Linked DNA regions of Homo sapiens: region 1 is linked to region 2. Evidence: promoter capture Hi-C in 16 types of primary human blood cells and fetal thymus (Javierre and others, 2016). All regions are on one chromosome and are shown on one strand. The core of a region is centred on a gene start or on the middle of the fragment in contact, and the rest is flanking DNA. Distances in the headings are between cores, read along the strand shown.

Evidence for each region. Contacts are between HindIII fragments. The CHiCAGO score rates a contact against its expected background, and 5 or more counts as called.
Region 1: a fragment that was not itself captured here is called in contact with the fragment with the promoter of HTR1E in region 2 in 2 of 17 cell types (endothelial precursors and erythroblasts); the score reaches 8.0 in endothelial precursors.

Annotation. Positions count from the first base shown.
Region 1 is chr6:85,947,442-85,952,189 of GRCh38, reverse strand. It overlaps LOC101928842 (a long non-coding RNA gene), which reads right to left. Exons shown (of 9, transcript XR_002956361.1): 5 at 2,396-2,532; 6 at 2,098-2,239. Among named protein-coding and RNA genes, the nearest start is that of SNHG5, 270 kb to the right of the region's middle. The HindIII fragment of the contact is 1,562 bases long and covers 2,467-4,028 here.
Region 2 is chr6:86,934,527-86,938,900 of GRCh38, reverse strand. It overlaps HTR1E (5-hydroxytryptamine receptor 1E), which reads right to left and starts at 1,373. Exons shown (of 2, transcript NM_000865.3): 1 at 1,078-1,373. RefSeq lists enhancers at 479-1,033, 1,034-1,589. The HindIII fragment of the contact is 4,175 bases long and covers 1-2,294 here.

The DNA.
Region 1 (4,748 bases), core at 1,998-4,497, 990 kb after region 2:
TATTATTATTATTATACTTTAAGTTCTGGGATCCATGCGCAGAATGTACAGGTTTGTTACATAGGTATACACGTGCCATGGTGGTTTGCTGCACCCATCAACCCGTCATCTACATTAGGTATTTCTCCTAATGCTATCCCTCCCCTAGGCCCCCACCCCCCAACAGGCCCCGGTGTGTGATGTTCCCCTCCCTGTGTCCCTGTGTTCTCATTGTTCAACTCCCACTTACAACTAAGAACATGCGGTGTTTGGTTTTCTGTTCCTGTATTAGTTTGCTGAGAATGATGGTTTCCAGCTTCACCCGTGCCTCTGCAAAAGACATGAACTCATCCTTTTTATGGCTGCATAGTATTCCACGGTGTATATGTGCCATATTTTCTTTATCCAGTCTATCATTAATGAGCATTTGGGTTGGTTCCAAGTTTTGCTATTGTCAATAGTGCTGCAATAAACATATGTGTGCATGTGTCTTTATAGGAGAATGATTTATAATCCTTTGGGTATATACCCACTAATGGGATTGCTGGGTCAAATGGTATTTCTGGTTCTAGATCCTTGAGGAATCGCCACAGTGTCTTCCACAATGGTTGAACTAAATTACACTCCCATCAACAATGTAAAAGTGTTCCTATTTCTCCACATCCTCTCCAGCATCTGTTGTTTCCTGACTTTTTAATGATCACCATTGTAACTGGTGTGAGATGGTATCTCATTGTGGTTTTGATTTGCATTTCTCGGATGACCACTGATGATAAGCTTTTTCTCATATGTTTGCTGACTGCATAAATGTCTTCCTTTGAGAAGTGTCTGTTCATAACCTTCGCCCACTTTTTGATGGGATTGTTTGTTTGTTTTTTCCTTGTAAATCTGTTTAACTTTTTTGTAGATTCTGGATATTAGCCCTTTGTAAGATGGATAGAGTGCAAAAATTTTCTCCCATTCTGTAGGTTGCCTGTTCACTCTGAGGATAGTTTCTTTTGCTGTACAGAAGCTCTTTAGTTTAATTAGATCCCATTTGTCAATTTTGGCTTTTTTTGTCATTGCTTTTGGTGTTTTAATCATGAAGTCTTTCCCCATGCCTATGTCCTGAATGTTATTGCCTAGGTTGTCTTCTAAGGTTTTTAGGATTTTAGGTCTTCCATTTAAGTCTTTAATCCATCTTGAGTTAATTTTTGTATAAGGTGTATGGAAGGATTCCAGTTTCAGTTTTCTGCATGTGGCTAGCCAGTTTTCCCAACACCATTTATTAAATATGGAATCCTTTCCCCATTGCTTGTTTTTGTCAGGTTTGTCAAAGATCAGATGGTTGTAGACGTGTAGTGTTATTATTGAGGCCTCTGTTCTGTTTCATTAGTCTATATATCTGTTTTGGTACCAGTACCATGCTGTTTTGGTTACTATAGCCTTGTAGTATAGTTTGAAGTCAGGTAGCATGATGCCTCCAGCTTTGCTCTTTTTGCTTAGGATTGTCTTGGCTACATGGGCACTTTTTTTGTTCTATATGAAATTTGAAGTAGTTTTTCTAATTCTCTGAAGAAAGTCAATGGTAGCTTAATGGGGATAGCATTGCATCTATAAATTACTTTGCGCAGCATGGCCATTTTCACAATATTGGTTCTTCCAATCCATGAGCATGGAATATTTTTCCATTTGTTTGTGTCGTCTTGTATTTTCTTGAGCAGTGGTTTCTAGTTCTCCTTAAAGAGGCCCTTCACATCCCTTGTAAGTTGTATTCCTAGGTATTTTATTCCCTTTGTAGCAATTGTGAATGGGAGTTCACTCATGATTTGTCTCTCTGTCTATTATTGATATATAGGAATGTTTGTGATTTTTGCACATCAATTTTGTATCCTGAGACTTTGCTGAAGTTGTTTATCCGCTTAAGGAGATTTTGGGCTGAGACGATGGGGTTTTCTAAATATATAATCATGTCATCTGCAAAGAGAGACAATTTGACTTCCCATATGAGGAATTATTCTTATCCCCAACCTAAATTTTTTAAACTGATGCTCTGAGAGTTTTAGAAGATTACCCTAGCTTACACAACTACAAAGTAACAGAATAAGCTTAAAATAAATAAATAACTTTTCTGCTCACCTCATTTTTCAACTATTCATCTTCATTGTTCTGTTCTTCCAGGGAAAATTTCTGTGTCCCACAGCTTAAGTCCAGTGGACAAGTTGACTAAGGGAACTGTTTCAACCAAGTGATCCAAAGTAAGGTAGCCAAAGACCAGGTCCTGGAGAAATAGAAACACGGCCCAAAAAAATGCTGCCAAACATAGCATTTCAAGAGACAGAAGAGAACAAAAATGGGAAGATTGGCATGAAAGTTAGTAGGACAAAAGAAGGTGCAAAGAGGAGATCACAGAGGCCAATGAGTGCCTAGAGCTCACCATTTATGCAGCACCTGGAGGAGAGCAGCTAGACTTGAGAGGTCTGGTTTTCAGTTTGGGAAGATAAAGCTTTTAAAGTCCTGTATAGTCCTGAACATGATTTCCAAGTTTTTCTTAGAATTCTGATATCCTGTAGACTTAGATTAAAAGAATATAGATTTGTAGAGAAGAGTTTAAACATTAATTATATTATTTCATGTGCCTAATTTTGAGATGGAATAAGAAAAAAACACACATATAAAATATAAAGTTCTCCAGTTTATTTAATGGAATGAGATTTGGGGCAGAATTTCATAATTGGAGTATCCAACATATTACTCTTATCTGCCTTTGAAGATCTGGGTAGAACAAGTTTAATATAGACTCTGCATCTCTTTTCAGCCTCTACTTTTATCAGTAGCATTTTAACTTTCACTATGTTTCACATTCAAATTCCTGAGAGAGAGCATTTCCTAGGCTCAGTTGATCACCATCATCTTTGCTGGATAGAACTCTGGGTTTGACCACCTCAAGGTCCACTGCTCAGGCCATCCATGGACTTGCCTTGGATCAGATGCCTGTTCTTCCTGCATCCTATGGCAAGGTGTTTGTGCTATGTTGTGTAGATCATGGCCACTTATTCATTTTTGAAGATGATTTATAGATGAAGGGTTGTTCTACTAGGCAAAAGTTTTTCTATCTATCAAGTTATTCCCTTAAAGGTCTCTATTTTCCTCAAAATTTTTAAGTATGTTTTGTAAGTATAATTCCTTCCTTCTGATGAAGGTGGAATGCCTTATTTAAACTTGAAAATAATTAAACTCTATGATTTGAAAATTCATTCATACTAACATGCTGAGGGTAAGGTCAACATGAATTTATAAACAAACTTCCTTTAGGTTGCTTTGTAGTTGTTTGAGTATAATTTTAAAAGTCTAGTTCTTCATGTATGTGTTTTTCATAGTTACCCAACTGAAAAATCCTTGAAGGCAAGAACCATAGTTTATTACTTTTTATCCCTGACAACATCTAAGATGCTGTGCTCGTCAAGCGTGTTAAATGTTGCTGAGTGACTGAGCCTACGGATCTCTAGGAGTTATTGAATAGTTGACTTTAACTGCTTTGTTAGCTGTCTGTATCCACAGAAATTTGAGATCAGCTGTTTGGAATAATGCACACAAAAGCCTTCTGTTCTGTAATGTCAGTAAAAGATATTTAAATTAGAGCAATGGAGTCCTAAATGTGAACCATAAAGGAAATTATTTCCACTCTATGTGAGAAGAACTGGATGCTCCTTATTTCTTTGCAAACTAATAAAATTCTCATTAATAGGCCAATAGCATGTAATTGAAATTTTCTAGGCCCAGAGCAAATTTTGTTTAAAGTGACCCAACTGTTTCTTAAGGTTCCAAAGCAAAGGGAAAAGTCAAGCAGGCAAGGATTTTTTTTTTCATGTCAGGGCTTCCTCCTTTAAATGAATCTTGCCCATCTTTGAGATTTTGTTTTTAAGAAACATGCCAGCCCAGTAGAAAGTTATTTTAGGCATTTAGCAAACCCACCAATCTAGGTGACTGTGAATAGTAAAATAAACTTGGTTTACTGCAGTGGCTCTCTTGGGCCTTAGCAGCAAGTACATATGCCTTGTAATCAAGCTTTATATACCATTAAGAGTAATCTGAAACTTGGTATACATAACATTTTAACTGCAAAGTCACATAAATTTTTAAAAAACACTCCATTTGCTTTAGGTAAAATCTTTGCTTGGAGACTCCCTCCCTCTTTTGTTTTTTTCTTTTCTTCTTCTTCTTTTTTTTTTTTTTTTGAGACGGAGTTTTGCTCTCGTTGCCCAGGCTGGAGTGCAATGGTACGATCTCAGCTCACCACAGCCTCCGCCTCCTGGGTTCAAGCGTTTCTCCTGCCTCAGCCTCCCGAGCACCCAGGATTACAGGTATGCACCACCATGCCCGGCTAATTTTGTATTTTTAGTACAGACGGGGTTTCTCCATGTTGGTCAGGCTGGTCTCGAACTCCCAACCTCAGGTGATCCACCCGCCTCGGCCTCCCAAAGTGCTGGGATTACAGGCATGAACCACCAAACCCGGCCTTCTTTTTTTTTTTTTTTGAGTCAGACTATTTCTCTGTCGCCAGGCTGGAGTGCAGTGGTGCAATCTTGGCTCACTGCAACCTCTGCCTCCTGGGTTCAAGCAATTCTCCTGCCTCAGCCTCCTGAGTAGCTGGGGCTATAGGCACGCACCACCAAGCCCAGCTAACTTTTGTATTTTTAGTAGAGACGGGTTTCACCATGTTGGACAGGATGGTCTCAATCTCTTGACCTCATGATCTGCCCGCCTCAGCCTCCCAAAGTGCTTGGATT
Region 2 (4,374 bases), core at 124-2,623:
GTACAACTATGATAAATATATATTCTGGAGCAATGTTAAATTCAGCTTAGGACGATGTACTGCTTAGAGCTTTGAGGGAAAACATAAGAATGATAAAATGAGCCTAAATTATTTTGGAAAAAACACTGCTCCCCCAACCCATTTGACGATCTATTATTTCCTCCTGGGCTGCTCCCTCCCCAAGAGATTTGGTGCAGGAGGCAAGGAAGGACAATAAGAAAGGTTAGGAAGAAACACCTTGGGATGCTGACACCATCTGCCTTATCCTTCTAACTCAAGGACAAGCAGCGTTGGGTTGAATACAAGGTCCTTTCTTCCAAAACTGGGCACAGGCAGAAATATACATATAGATGCAAAACCACTATGATCCTGTGATAGGAGCTGGAATCACTTCCCTTTAGACTCAATTTCCTTTCCTTTTCGTTAGGTAGGGGGTCAGCCTCTCACCTTGCAGTATTGGGTGGAGATGGCTTAAGACCAAACTTCTCATCTTAACTCTTACTTCCAAGATTTATTTTGTATTTTAAAAAAAATGAGCCTGCCTCATTACCTCCACACCTGGGCATTTTGTTTATCAGGACTGAGCACAGTATTATTTTCTGAGGGCTGGAGCAACAGTGCAGTCCTTTCTAATCAAAGGTTTTTTAATCAGCTGGCTTTGAAATCACACAGTTCTTCCGGGGTCCCTGGAGCACACCACCTCCCTGTGATTTCTACTCAAGTTTTCCCTGGCCCCCCCCAGCACCCGTTCCATACCTATTTAATCTTTAAGCTGCCTCTAATCCTTTTGCAAGGAAGCAGGATGAAATGCTCAAACCACAGTTATACACAATGTTGATTCTCAGGTTCACACATTTGAGGAATTGTTTGAACAAGAAATGCTCTCTGTACTATAATCCAGGGTGCAGGCACGGTGCCCGGGCGACCCTCAGTCTCCCTCCGACACCCCGCATCCCAACTCCCGCCGCCTTTGCGCCTCAAAGCTGGCAAACATCCCCAAGCCAGAGCTGGAGTACCTGGAGTGGGTGGGGGTAAGAAGGGAAGCCAAGGTCGTCCCGGAAGGTGTGCGCCCCTCACCTTGTGGACGGTGCGTGCAGCCGCGCCGCACTGGGCAAACCGGCACGTCCAGCTGGCTCCAGAAGTCTCACTCGGAACCCGCTCCTTTTTCTCCTGAGCTGGATCAGAGCACTGCTTCTCTCAACATTCGATTCTGGAGTACGTTGAGCCCAGGGCGTTCTCCCCGCCAGCGTCCTTGCCCGCGCCAGTGCCCGCCGGGGTGCGGCGAGACAGAACCTGGGAGCGCGGCGCGCCGGGCAGCCCGAGGCACCGCTGGTGGCAGGCGCTGCGCTTCGCCGAGTCTGGGCGCCTGGACTGGAAGAGGAGGCGAGAGGGAGAGAGCGGGGAAGAGGAGGAGGAGGAGCAGGAGCAGGAGCATGGGCAGGGGCAGTCTGCTAAATCATCTACGCAGGTCGCAGCCTCCCGGGACACCGTGAACGGAGAGGGGGGTGGTGGGTGTGGGATGAAAAGATGAGCCCGGGTGTGAGGCAGGTGGTATTGTGAACTGGAGGTCGCAGCTCCGAGGTACTCCAGGTCTTGCTTAGGTTATAAAAGAGAAATTCTGGAGCTGATGGCGCCTTAGGGCTCCCGGTTGCAGACACTAGAGGGCAGGGCTGTCCATGTTATAAACCGGGCCAGCGGGGTTGGAGGTGTGGGCAAGGGACTCACCTCCTGAGCCCCTTGCCGGCCACAGCCCTGGCGGAGAAGGGGAAAATAGATACAACAAGGGGGCAGACCCTACTCCCTTCTTCTGTAGCGAGCCTGGGTTGAGGAGGGAGAGGAACGGCGGGAGCAGTTGACGGGTTTGCACGCTTTCTCTACGCGGTTCCAATGGCAAACAGACCCTCTGGAGGTGCATTTCTTAGCCCTCCTCCAGGGGAGATTACAGTCAACATCCACAGGATGCCTCAAGGAGAGAGATTACAAGGAAGGGGTGAGGGAGAAGTGGACGAAAATTGGGGTGGGTCAAAGTGGAAGGGGGGAAGAGAGGTGGGGAAAGCAGTGAAGAAAAGGAGACGGAGAGTGGAGTGGTTGGGGCTGAAAGACCTGCTGAAGCAGCCTTGCCATTTTTTTTTTTTTTGAGGGAAGTCTACCTGGGCGCCATCTCAGGTTGTCAGAGGGCTTTGTGCTCTTCTGAGGGTGCCAGGGGCTGTTCTTTTTGTTGTTCTGCTGCCGCAAGGTCAGAAAAGTTAAGCTGGGAGGGACTTTGCAGAATCCTGGCATTGCTAAAAGAAGCTTCCTTACGGCTGGTTGGTTATTCTCTGTGGAGAACTTGGGTGACTCAACATTGAAGCCTAACATGGATTGAGCCCCTGCCATTGTAAAAAAGAAAATCAGATTGTTCAAACTAGCCATAAAATGAACTAGACAATCTTATGGAGACAGTATGATCTGTAGACAGCCTGATACACAAACCTTAGAGTTGAAAGGACCTTGGAAACCATGTAGGCAACTTGGGTAGCTGCCCCAAACACCTGCCTCACACTTTTCTTTCTGGTTTGTAGCCTTATGGCTGATTTGAAAAACACTTTAAGTTATTTATTTATTTTTTGAAGTTTGACAATTCTAAACCAAATGAAACCCTTCTTCAGTTCAAAAAGCGAGCCTGTGTGCCCTTCTCCTGCCTTCTAGAGCGCCTCTCAAGGCCAGCAGGGGTTGACTGATGGATTATCAGGGGAATTTCACTGAACAAGAGAAAGGAAGGTTGGTAAACTATAGTCTTAAATTGTGATTTGCTTCTGTTAATCCCATTAAACTGAGAATAGGCTTAAGTAGACTGAAGTCTAACAGGAGGATGAGGTGGAAATATGTTTTCCTACTAAAGATGACACATCTTGAAGTTTGTTTGATGATAAAGGTGTTATGTAAAAATAAGCAGAACAAGAATCATTCCTCATTTTAAAAAAGAATCTTATAGGACTGAAGATATTTTAGATATCCCAAGAGAGTAAGTAAGGACATTGTTCTACTCTTGCAAGTTTGGAGTTCCTCCAAAATATAAAGGAAATATGAGTTTGTTAAATTGCTTTATTTAAAATTGATTTACCTATTTTTTGGTTATTACAACATAAGGAACTATGGAAACAAATATTATACACTTGGAAACTTTCCTGAACATACCTCAGAATACCCGCTTTTTGGCAGATGTTCAGCTTTATGAAGTGTCTGATTATTTTCAAGCTATTAATTAACTTCTGGCATATATTCTACCAGTTTTAATAAAATCAATGCTCTCTTAATCAAGAGCTGCTAATTCAATTTGTATTACCCATTTGAGTTTCCAGTGGCCTCTATGAGTGCTTTAAGATTGCAGGTATATGTAAATCACATCCCCATTTCATAATAGAGAATTCCTTGTCAGTTAGAAAAACTATAAGGATTGCCTGGAGCCCTGGGCATCTGGCATAAAAAAGTCATCAACTTGCAGCGGGAACTCAAAAGTCACTATGAAGAAATTAACTTATCAAATCCACTCATTCATTAATTCAAAAAATGTTGGTAAATATCTACCACGTTTGAGGCATGGGGCAACTTCTAGGACTAAAATAATGAAGGAACAGTTTATTCTCTCAGTGGGAAGACTAATTCCCAAACTAGTAAATCCATTCCAGAGTAACAGTTTGGAGAAGGGGTAAGTACAGGATGTTATGGGAGCACAGAGGAGGGCAATCTAATCCAGGTTTTAGGACCAGGGAGTAATTTCTGGAAGTGGTACTGACAGTGGTGATGTGTATAGATGGTGGGGTGGTTGATAGTGGTTGGGAGAGGGAAAAATCATGAACAATGGATTCCCTCTATCTCCAAGACAATCCTAATTACATTTGTTAATTTTTCACTTGGATGCTGGAACTTCACATTAATAGATGAGGAAGCAAGCATGCACATGGTACATTTTTCTGCTAGAAGTAAGACTACAAGTTTTGTGAGGCAGGAGCTGTTTATAACTTGTTCATCACACGATTACAGAGAAGAATCAAGATTCTGGTTGACATTGTCTGTCATTTCCTACCTCCACCACGGAAGTGGGAATGAAACATGAAGGGAAGGCATTATGGTGGCGAGGGAGCTCACATTTCTGAGCTCACACCATCCTAGGTGCTCTCCATACATGATTCCACTAAACAATTTCAACAACCCTGTGACATGGTTCTCTCATTTTACTGTTGATTTCAAAGACTGAGCTTCAAATTGCATTTTATGTCTGTGGTGTGACAGAGGCTAGAGGGAGAGAATGAAATGTTTATAGGTAGGTTTCAACATTTGTCAGCTTTCAGGAAGTTATGCTATAGTAACCAAGCATAACCCCCAAATCTCAGT